4 separate regions of the Homo sapiens genome follow, and all the other regions are linked to region 2. The links are contacts of gene promoters, found by promoter capture Hi-C in human tissues and cell types (Jung and others, 2019). All regions are on one chromosome and are shown on one strand. The core of a region is centred on a gene start or on the middle of the fragment in contact, and the rest is flanking DNA. Distances in the headings are between cores, read along the strand shown. Region 1 has its middle 35 kb from the start of ANXA1. Region 2 holds the start of ABHD17B (abhydrolase domain containing 17B, depalmitoylase). Region 3 overlaps KLF9-DT (KLF9 divergent transcript). Region 4 overlaps SMC5 (structural maintenance of chromosomes 5).

Region 1 (2,700 bases), core at 164-2,663, 1.2 Mb after region 2:
AATTCCCGGCTCTGAGCAGTGAAAATCAATCTGGTGGATTTCAGCTGACAGGTATTACTTTTCCCTTCCACACTCACTACTCCAGGCCATACAAACAAGAAAAAAATTCTCACATGTGAGTAATGTGAGAAGTTGTAAGTATTCATCTGTCATTTTTCTTGTATTATAGCAAGGGATAATGTGTTTAAAAGAATACTATATTTAAAAGCAAGTGTTAAAGAACTATAAATAAGAAAGAAATATCTTATTATTATCACTTTATAGCATGACTCTGGTTTTTCATATTCCAAAAGATACCTTTAAGACTTATGTTGCTTTGGGTGTTGAAAATTCCTAGGTTTGTAATAGTCTTATAAGTTTAGAGCAGCACTTGGATATTTTGTTTGCTGCTACTGGTTTTGAAGTATTTGACAGCTCAGCGTTTCTGTCTCTGCTAATCTATGCTTAGCTCTAGCTAACTGCCTATTCCCTCTGATTCATTGCATGAAAGAGAAACAGTGGCTTTCTTAGTCATAAACCTGACTTCATATATCTTGACTGAAACTAAGGGATTCAAGATTCACAGCAAAATTATAAATGTAATTCATGGTTTCTCTGACTGCACTTTTCCCAGTCATGAGGTTTGGCCCTCACAGAGGCAAGGATATTTATCTTCCTTTAAGTATTTTCAAACCATGTACTAGTTCTATTTAAACTAAAATCTGCAGGCCTATTAAAATCGTTTTAGAGCCTTGTTTCTGCTAGGAATATCTAGTATGGATTGTTTCCAGTTTTAGAAATCAAGCCCTTTCTACTTCTGGACTATTTGAATACACATCTGAAGCAAACACATTAAAACATACTAACAGTGTCTTTTATGTAGCAATGAGACAATGAATCAATAATTTGTGCCATCTATTTCATGCTCAATTAAAAATATTTGAAATTATTTTCTATATGGCAGAATTTTACAATTGGGAAGATCTTCTTTAATAAAAAAACTTGATGGATGAAAGTTTATTCTGTACTGTGAAAAAAATGGTCACTCAGGTCTATTAGGAAAACACCTATTGACCATGGGGTAAAAATAACCTCAGCAGGGTTTTTGTAGATTCTAAAGGAAAAGAGGAGAAAATGATTAGGAGTAAGATCAAGTCTGTTGTTGGGAAAATTAGCTGTTATGTTGAAAATGTACTGCAACTTTTAAATTGGATAGACACATTTCTAACCACGTAATCTCATTCTTATTCATATAATCATGTAATGCTCATACCTGGGTTGTAATGCCCTTTTCTTTTAAACCACAGTAGGATTCTAGGAAACTTAGATCTCCAGAACATCCTCCATAGGAGAGCTTAGTTCTGAAGCACTCATCTTCACTAGGATATCAGTAAAGACAGATGGGTTATGCTATGGAAACAAATCTCAACACTCAGGGCTTATTGCATACAAATTTACTCCTCTCTTGCCCACACAAAGTCATTTGTGGTTCAAGTAACTCTCTAGGACAGCTTCCTTCCAAACAGTGACTTGGAGATCCAGGTCCTTTTCTTTTTTTTCTTTTTAAATCTTCTAGCATTATCTTTTGGGACTGCAGTGATCACCATGGCAAGGGAAGAGAAATAACTCACACCGCCTCTTAAATGCCTCATCTCATAGGTGATATATTATTGCTGTTCATATCCCATTGGTCAGGGTAGTCTTGTTGTCCCAAAATAACTACATGGAGACTGGGAAATGTGGAAAAGAGCATAGGGATATTTGGTGAGTTCTACGGTTTGTACCTCAGTCCACTTGCCCCTCTACATCCTCACCTGGGAAGAGTCCAGACACACCTCCCTTGACACAATTCCTAGCTCCCTCTTCTCTCAACACAACTCTTAAACCAACCCTTGCTGACGGTGGTGCTACAAGAGCTTTGCCTTGATACCTGTGGTACAGGGGAAAGGGAGCTGTTCTTGAGAGCTACCAAATCACAGCTGACTTTGGGTGAACAAGATATAAAGCTTTATATATTAAGCTGATGAGATTTCAGGGTTCATTTCACTACCACAATATAATCTATCTTATCCTGAATAATATAATTGAGTAGAAAATGTCTTCTTTCTTGTGTTGCCTCTCCAAATCACCAACTTTGCCATACATTCTACCATTTGTATCCTTGAATCATCCCTCAGATTTATTAGAAACTTTTACAACAATCTTGGCTCTGTACTGATTCACAGCTTTGTCCTGGCTCTTCCTAGTTTGATGCTTTCTCCTGCCTCTTCTCAGTTCAATGCTTTCTGACATTTTTATTTTTCTATAGGAACATGTTTTCTTGTTGCCAAAGAGAAGCAGGAAAATATTGATCTGTAGGCAACTCTCAGTAATTAGGACTATAATTAGATCTCATCAAAACTGTTCATGCTAGATAAATTTGATGACATTGGAAAGTTTATGCCTGATTAGATTATTTAATTTCTCTAGTATTATTGCTGTTACTGAGAACTCATAAGCGGAAATTCTTATGAAGGCAAAAGAATATATTTAAAGCCATGCTTTTGAAGGTGTGTTAAAACCTCAAAGATTACCTTTTAAAAACCCTGAGCATTAAATACCAGGATTCATGTATATTTTGGATTAAAGTTTCATCTTACCAAGCAATTAATCATAGCTTACCCTGTCTGTATTCTCTATTGCTTTTAATTCTTTTAGTCACACTGGGTGGGTAATTTTTTG
Region 2 (2,866 bases), core at 78-2,577:
CTGAACTTTTTTTTTTTTTAAACAAAAACCCCAGGTTAAATACACTCTTTCCTTCACGAGAGCCCCCACACAGTACAATCTAATTTGACATAACTTTGTTTCGGGGTTAAAAAAAATCCCAAACAAAACCTTTAAATTTTCCAATTCAAAAACGATTCCTGATAAGCCTACCTTAGAGTTCGAAAACAAATAAGATTAAAGCCCAACCATCTAAAGAAAAAGAACCCTACGACAGCCCCACCGGAATACACAAATCGCCAAGCCCCGTGCAGATTCAATCTAAAATCGCGCCCGACAGAGATATAAGGACATTCAGGAGAAAGCTTTTAGGCACCCGCGAATCTCTCAGTGCGCCAGTGAGGGGAATGGGAACCTGACCCCATCTTTTCATCCACTGAGAGAAAAGCAAAGGAAATGAAATGGAACCCTTCTCTTCACCGAGGAGGACCAAAGACCTTCTTAGAGTGTCGGTCGGTCCTCCCTCCCCCACCCCCTGACTCCGGCCGCTCCACGGACCGCAGGGACTGTCCTACCGCTCCCCTTCACGCAACCATCAGAGAATCCTCTCAAAAACACAGACCCGATGAGGAGTGGCTTCCCCGCCTTTCCCCTGTGCCGAGAAGGGATCCCGGTCGCCAACAACAAAGACGCTTCCCGCTCCCCTCCCCCCGCCGGCCCGGGCTCGTCCCTCCCGCGCTGCGGCTCCCGGCCTAGCGCCCCCTCCCCGAGCCGGGCTGCGGCGTCCCCAAACCCCGAGGCCGCACGCACCTGCACCTGAGCGGCCCGGGCCGAAGCGCCGGGCAGAAGGGGTCGAGAGAGAACCGCAGCCGACGCGCTGTCCTCCACAAGGCGAGATCCGCGCTCCGGGCGCCGTCCGACTCTCTCCGCCTGCAGACTGGCCCGACAGAGGAGCGGGGACCAGGGCTACAGCCCCCGGCGCCGGGGCGAAGAAGGACGGCGGCGCCCCAGGGGCCCCGCTCACGCTCCCGAGTCTCGCCTCGCGCCGGCCCTGCTCCTCCACAAGAGCTCGCGTTCTGCTGACTAACGGCCCCGGTGCGGGGCGCTGGAGCGGCCGCCGCTGCCCGTCGGTTGCTCTCGGGCCTCACGTCCCGCGCGGCCGTGGTCGCAGCCGCCGCCGCCACCGCCTCCCTTTCTGGCACTGCAGACGCCACCCAGACCTAGCCAGGTCTTCCTTCTCTTTAATCCTGCTTTCTTTGCTCCTCCTCAGCCTGCCAAGCGCGAGGCTCGTTCCGGTAGCGGGAGGAAGACTGGAGGGGAACGGAGGGGACGAGCACAATCCCCACTGAGCCAGGAGTTGGCCACTGACTGGAGGAAGGTGCCAAAGCTGACCCCGGCTCCAGCCTACTAGCGGGCGGGGGGAGAGACGGAGCCCAGCCTTGCCTCACTTCCACCAATCAGAGGCCGCCCGGCAGGGTGGGAGGCGCTCTGAGCTCAAGGAGAGGCTGAGCTCGCTCAGCAGGAGGCGGGGATTGCGGAAAAGAAGAACCAATAGGAACAAAGGTTCCCCGCCCCTTTGATTTGATGGACTACACATTCGGGCCAATGGGGGAATTCTCATTTCGAAGAAAGTGGGACTTGTTCTCCGGGTTTGAGAAAGAGGCTGCGCGGAGCCGGAGGGGTCGAGGCTGCGCCGCGTGGAGTGGCTTGGCTTAACAGCAGGGAGGGCAGAGCGATGCTCTTTGACCTCCCAGAAGAGTCACGTGGGCTGACCCAGAGCCGGGGCGGAAAGGCTGCGTTTGTTTCTTCCGGGTCATTGACAGAAGCGTCAATTCCTGGGAGTAGTTCGTTGGTTTTCTTTCCCCTCATCCTTTTGCCTGCTCCCGGCGAGGGGTGGCTTTGATTTCGGCGATGAGCTCCCAGAAAGGCAACGTGGCTCGTTCCAGACCTCAGAAGCACCAGAATACGTTTAGCTTCAAAAATGACAAGTTCGATAAAAGTGTGCAGACCAAGGTAGGAACCTGCCTGTTGCACCGTCTTTGACTCCAGGAAGGAATGGCTCACTGGAGAGGGGAGAGAGGAAATGAGAGGAGTCGGCTGGGGCGAGTGTGGACCGCAGCCCAGAGTTAGTCTTGGCTGCAGTGCAACTCTTTCTAAAATGTTATTCTCACGCCCTTTCTTTGACCTGGACATGTTGTCTCCTGGTAAATATTTGATGGTCAGCACACTTAACTAATTGCACAGAGTGAACAGGACCCTAATGAAATCTAAGGTGCAGATGGGGCAGTTACGTCGTTCAGCGTTCCCATCTGGATCACATTAGCAGAGGGAAACGAGGATTGTGGCATGAGTGGCTTTTTCAAATTTTACACCAAGTTTATGCAGCTACGATTTTTTTTTCCAAAAACCCCAAGCCCATAGAGGAAATGTGAATGATTAAGCTGTCTTAGGCTGTCCTCACTAGTATTGTGTGAAATTTCTGTTTTGTAACAATTGTTTTGAAGATAAAAATATTTGGTTAATGTAAAAATACTTGTTTTGCTGTTTATCTTTAGCAGGACTTCTGTAAAGTCCTGCTAAAAAATTCAGACTGTCTAGATAGCCAGAGGACTTGGGTTGTATATAAGTACTAATTTGCAGGCCGGGCGCCGTGGCTCAAAGTGCTGTAATCCCAGCACTTTGGGAGGCCGAAGCGGGTGGATCACCTGAGGTCAGGAGTTCGAGAACGACCTGGTCAACATGGCGAAACTCCATCTGTACTAAAAATACAAAAATTAGCCGGGCGTGGTGGCGGGCGCTTGTAATCTCAGCACTTTGGGAGGCCGAGGTGGTGGGCGGATCACCTGAGGTCAGAAGTTCGAGAACGACCTGGCCAACATGGCGAAACTCCCAATCTGCTAAAAATACA
Region 3 (2,700 bases), core at 127-2,626, 1.4 Mb before region 2:
GTCTCAGAACTTCAACTTGAGATCTCAGTCTCTAAAAAATCAAGATAAATATACAAGATGATTCTACCTGTATTCTAATAAGAGTCTCTGGAGCACAATTCTGAAAAACATTTTCTTTTGAAAAAACTTTTTTAAAAATGAAAGAAGATTCTTGCATACAGGGAGGCAGAATAGTGTAATCAAAGGAATCTGGGCTTTCAACCTTGGATAGACTTGGGTTTAAGTGCCAGCTCTGCCATGTCCATGGCTGCATGATCTCGGACAAGTTATTTAAGCTCTTTGAGTCTTGGTTTCTTATCTATAACAGGGATGATATCAACACCTACTCTACAGGATTACTGTGGGGTTGAAATGAGAGAATGTATGTAAAGTACTTGATACATTATGTGTGATCAACAAATGTCATTCTGTTAGGTCTTTGCTCCCACCAGGTGTGTGTGGGTTGGTGCAAACTCTTGCTTAATTCTCTGAGAACTCCCCTTCATTTACTCCTTCTGAGATCTTGGTTACATGCCCAGTCCCTGGATTTATTTAGCTTGGTCCAGGTCAGATCCTTAAGGTTTTGCATTTACTGCCCCAGGCACACTCTGGCCTGAGAAATTCCATCTACGACTGGCTGGAGTTGGCACTAGCCCTTGGCAAATAACTTCAATTGGGAGAGAAGTGTTTTTGAGACAGGCTCTTTGCTGCCAAAATTTTAAATAGGGCCTTCTGTGAGGGAGGTCTGGTCAGGGAAGTGAAGGGAGGTGATCTCCCCAGGGAAGAAAAAACTTAAGGCCAGGCATGGTGGCTCAGGCCTGTAATCCCAGCACTTTGGGAGGCCAAGGTAGAAAGAGCCCAGGAACTCCTCAAGACCAGGAGTTTGCTTGAGCTCAGGAGTTCGAGGCTAGCCTGGGTAACGTGGCAAAACCCCCGTCTCTACAAAAAACTAAAAAATTAGCTGAGCATAGTGGCGTGCACCTGTGGTTCTAGCTACTTGGGAGGCTGAGGTGGGAGGATTGCTTGAGCCCAGGAGGTTGAGGCTGCAGCAAGTCATGATCACTCCACTGCCCTCCAGCCTGGGTGACAGAGTGAGACCCTGTCTGGAAAAAAAAAAAAAAAAAGAATTTAAGATATCCCAGTGACCAGTTCCAAGAAAGCCCCACCTGGGCCTGAGCACTGGCTCTAATGACAGGCGATTGATTACTCTTTGAACTCTGGGATCTGTCAGTGATGGTGGCAGGGGAGTCTGCGAAATTATCCTCAGTGACTGACTCCTTGGGCCACAGGCTGGGGCATGGTGTGGTGGTCCAAGGGCTTGTGTTCTACTGGACTCTTGGACCTGTGAACTTGTGTTTAGGGGTGGAAGTATTGTCCCTGACTAAGTCCTTGAGGCCAGCTCCCTCCTCCTCTCCCATGTAGCTACAGCTGTGGTGTGGCATGGCCAACCTCCCCAAAGGTGCTTGTGTAACTTGTTTTTCAAAGTCTTGGCAGGAGCTCTGGTCCTGAAGTGAGAAAGGGAAAGGGTGTTTACATTCTGGAAGAACAGTTCTGAGAAGTGTCTCACATCAGGGCTGTCCCTGAACAATCCTTGTTCCCCAGTATCTCTGGAAGCTTCTTTTCCTATGGGATGGCTGGTCACAATCATAGAGATGATCTTGGACCTAGAGGAAACAAGCTTGAACATGACAGAAGGTAGGCAGTGAGGAAGCGCTGGTCTGCCACCCAGGGTTTGCTGCCCTGTGTAAACTGCCCTCCCTGGAAAGGTGAGGAAGCTCTCCAGGACAAGACTGTTGTTGCCCCAGTGCCTCCTGCCGTGCCTGGAATAGAGCACAGGGCTACAAACAGGTGCTCCATAGACATTCACTAAGTAAATAAATTGTGAAAATACGTGGGCAAGAAAACATTTCAGAGGTCACATTGGTGCAAATTCTTAATTGACACCAGGTTAACAGCTTTCTCTGAATAGTACTTACATTAATAATAACAATGGTTACTATTTATTAAATACCTAGTGTCTGCCAAGCAAAGGGAGATATTATTTCCTTAAATCCCACAATAGTTCTACTAATAGGTAGACTCTCCCCAGTTAATAGCTGACAGCGCAGAGACTCATGGGCACAAATCTGAGAAACTTGCCTGAGGTTCACCCAACAAATTAGGATTCAAAGCCACTGCCTAGGAGGCCCTGATTATCCTCTTTCTGTTTCTCTGTGAGGCCCCTCTGTGCCCTGCTCACCTCCTGCTGGTCTCTGCTCCTGCCACAGCAGCGGGGAAACAGGAACCTTTAAAGAAGGCTGAGGTGCAGTTCCATCCCTCCTGGGGCGGGCAGTTGTGCATTCTTGCCATTTTTTTCCTCTTGCAAATAGGCTTGAAGTCAACGTAGAAAGGGCAATGCAAAAGCAGCCCCGTTCCAGATGTCTGCTTTGTCATACTTTAAAACACCCACCCATATTCAGGCCTGTCCATCCTTCATTCTGGCAGCCCTCCCCTCCCGCCTTGCCACCTGTCTCCATACACAGCTTTCCCTTTTCCTGTCCTTCCTCTTCTGATGGGTGTGAGGGCCAGATTTCACTTCACTAGAACAACCTTGCTACTAGTATTATTCTAGGGACAGGCCCTGGCACAAAATAAACACTCGATAAGTATGTGTTGAATTGCACTTTAAATTCTAGACAAAGGAGGAAAAAGCTTTGGATCCAGAAGAAAATAGAAAAGCTG
Region 4 (2,700 bases), core at 197-2,696, 1.6 Mb before region 2:
TTCCCATTTCTTTTTCAGGTGTTTTCATTAATCTTAATCTCTTTGGTTTTATATACTATATTTTTTAAATTCTCAAACATATCAAATACCTTACTGTCCCAATGCCTAACTCAGTTCTATGTTGTATATAAATAATTTATGATGATATACTTTTCAGACATCTGTATGTACAAGAAAACCCAAGTTAGAAAGTATTTCAAGTACCTAGTAAAGATTATCTTAGCTATCTTTCAGAAGATATAAACCTTTATTGAGGAAATTTACTACCTTTATATCCTCAATCCTTCTGTTTGAGACAATAATGGCTAGATAATGGCAATAATGGCTGTATCTCTTCCTCAGAATAAAAGTATACTCTTTATGTTTTCTTTTATTATTAACTCTTAACATTTTAGGTTATCTAACAGTATATCCTATTTATGGAATTGTTCTCTCATTAATTTCTAAGATTCTCCCTTTGGTTAAATTGTCTGCTGACTTCTTTAGCTTGAGATGTCACTTTTATGGGAAGTGCTCTTCCTTCACTCTGTCAGTTCAAATCCAGTTTAAAACTCATTTTTAGGAAACTTGGGTAGGCTAAAGTCATCCAGTCTATCCCTTTTTTTCAGATTAGTCGGATTGTAGGATTTATGCCCTGTTGACCTAGTGTGCTTAAATATGTCTTACTTCTTCACTTAGACTATAAACTTCTGGAAGGAAACAAGCTACAGTAGTATTACAATAGTATCTGAAGGTTTTTAGAGATTGGAAACAACCTCTAAAAATGCTCTGCATTGCAGCAGCCTACTCTATAAATATACAGAAATAGATCAAATAGTGGTATGGTTGTGGTATTTATAATATATTTTAGTTTATGAAATCCATGTATAAATTCTTCAGAGAAAAGTTCTAAAAAACTTTAAAAATAAGAAAAGGCTTTGAAATCTATGAAAAATGTTTCATTTGATTATTCTTCCCAAATATACAGGAACTAAATATAAGATTATGTATCTTTGAACAGTATAACTGAGAGGAGGGGAGAGTAAATGACTTACCCAAGATAACAGTTCAATGTGCTGAGCACTCTTCTCTCCTGCTATCTCTTCTTTAGATGTAACAAAGCTCCAAAACTACTTGGGAGAGTTGTATAGTAGCGTAGAAGTATAGCTGACTTTGCTAGTTGTATGGGCCGCCTTTTTTGAAATTTTGTTGGATAGGTTAAAAAAAAAATTGCTAGATGCAGTGGCTCACATCTGTAATCCCAGCACTTTGGAAGACCCAGGCGGGAGAATCTCAGAGGCAGGAATTCAAGACCAGCGCCCCCATAGGAAGCATGGAAAAACTCCATCTCTACAAAAATTTTTTTTAATTAACCAGGCGTGGTGGCACATGCCTGTAGTCCCATCTACTCAGGAGGCTGAAGTGGAAGGATCACTTGAGCCTGGGGGGTTGAGGCTGGAGTAAGCTGAGTTCGTGCCACTGCATTCCAGCCTGGGTGACAGAGTGAGACCCTGTCTAAAAAAAAAAAATGTATATCTCGTATATTTTGATCTTCCAAAATTCACTTGGTCTGTATTTCTAATTTAGTACTTTAAAACATATAATTTATATTAGATGTGCACTAATAGTTGTTTTACGTTATAGGTAATACAAGAAACCCGATTAAAACAGATTTATACAGCAGAAGAAAAGTATGTGGTGAAAACTTCTTTTTATTCAAACAAAGTTATTTCTAGTAACACATCTCTAAAAGTAGCGCAGTTTCTCACTGTCACTGTGGACCTAGAGCAGAGAAGACACTTAGAAGAACAGCTAAAGGTTGGTTAATTTGATCTGAATGTTAGAAAAGAATATTAACTGGATTTCTAATAGTTTCACTGGAACAGTTTTTTAAATATGTTAACAATTTTTAAATATTTTATAGGAAATTCATAGAAAATTGCAAGCAGTGGATTCAGGGTTGATTGCCTTACGTGAAACAAGCAAACATCTGGAGCACAAAGACAATGAACTTAGACAAAAGAAGAAGGAGCTTCTTGAGAGAAAAACCAAGAAAAGACAACTGGAACAAAAAATCAGTTCCAAACTAGGAAGGTATCTTTTAGCCTATTCAGGGGGGAGAGCACAAATTACTGTATGGGAGAATATTAATTATACACTGTAATAACAACAGCATTTCCACAAGCACGCTTTGTAGTAATTTCTCTTTAATCTTTAATCTTACTGCATAAAACACAATTTTATTCCATAGGGCAAAAGGAGATGAATCTTGAGTGTTGCAAGTTCTTCTGTTCTTCCAGTCTCTGGACTCCTTTATATGCTTAAAAATTAATGAGGACCTTGAAGAGGTTTTGTTTACATGGATTGTATTTATTGATATTTACCATATTAGAAATTAAAACTGAGAATGTTTAAAATATTCATTAATTTATTTTTTTTTAGGTGGAGATGGGGCAGTAATTCATTTTAAAAATAAACCCATTATGTGTTAACATAAAAATGTATTAAAAATAGCTGTTTTCCAGACAAAATACATTTAGTGAGAAGAGTGGCGTTTTACATTTTTGCAGATTTCTTTAGTTGAAGTCAGTAGGTTTTTCCCTACTTAATTCTGTATATTGAGTTTGTAGTGAGATGTTTGAGTTGAAGTATATGAAGGAAATCTGGCTTCCCATAAATATGCAGTTGGAAAAGGAGGAGTATTTTAGACTTTTCAGGTAA

What was found. Contacts are between HindIII fragments. The study calls those that stand out against the background at their distance.
Region 1: a contact is called between a fragment that was not itself captured here and the fragment with the promoter of ABHD17B in region 2, in 1 of the 25 tissues and cell types used here (lymphoblastoid cells).
Region 3: a fragment that was not itself captured here is called in contact with the fragment with the promoter of ABHD17B in region 2 in 1 of the 25 tissues and cell types used here (dorsolateral prefrontal cortex).
Region 4: a contact is called between a fragment that was not itself captured here and the fragment with the promoter of ABHD17B in region 2, in 1 of the 25 tissues and cell types used here (lymphoblastoid cells).

Annotation. Positions count from the first base shown.
Region 1 is chr9:73,115,772-73,118,471 of GRCh38, forward strand. No RefSeq gene overlaps it. Among named protein-coding and RNA genes, the nearest start is that of ANXA1, 35 kb to the right of the region's middle. The HindIII fragment of the contact is 6,511 bases long and covers 1-2,700 here.
Region 2 is chr9:71,909,866-71,912,731 of GRCh38, forward strand. ABHD17B (abhydrolase domain containing 17B, depalmitoylase) reads right to left here and starts at 1,328. Exons shown (of 4, transcript NM_001025780.3): 1 at 769-1,328. It overlaps C9orf85 (chromosome 9 open reading frame 85), which reads left to right and starts at 1,774. Exons shown (of 4, transcript NM_182505.5): 1 at 1,774-1,971. The coding sequence starts at 1,870. RefSeq lists a silencer at 852-1,091 and enhancers at 1,542-1,851, 1,922-1,971, 1,982-2,041. The HindIII fragment of the contact is 8,289 bases long and covers 1-2,866 here.
Region 3 is chr9:70,477,707-70,480,406 of GRCh38, forward strand. All of the region lies in intron 3 of KLF9-DT (KLF9 divergent transcript), which reads left to right. Among named protein-coding and RNA genes, the nearest start is that of KLF9, 64 kb to the left of the region's middle. The HindIII fragment of the contact is 4,412 bases long and covers 1-2,700 here.
Region 4 is chr9:70,316,891-70,319,590 of GRCh38, forward strand. It overlaps SMC5 (structural maintenance of chromosomes 5), which reads left to right. Exons shown (of 25, transcript NM_015110.4): 14 at 1,624-1,797; 15 at 1,904-2,073. Among named protein-coding and RNA genes, the nearest start is that of SMC5, 59 kb to the left of the region's middle. The HindIII fragment of the contact is 6,146 bases long and covers 1-2,700 here.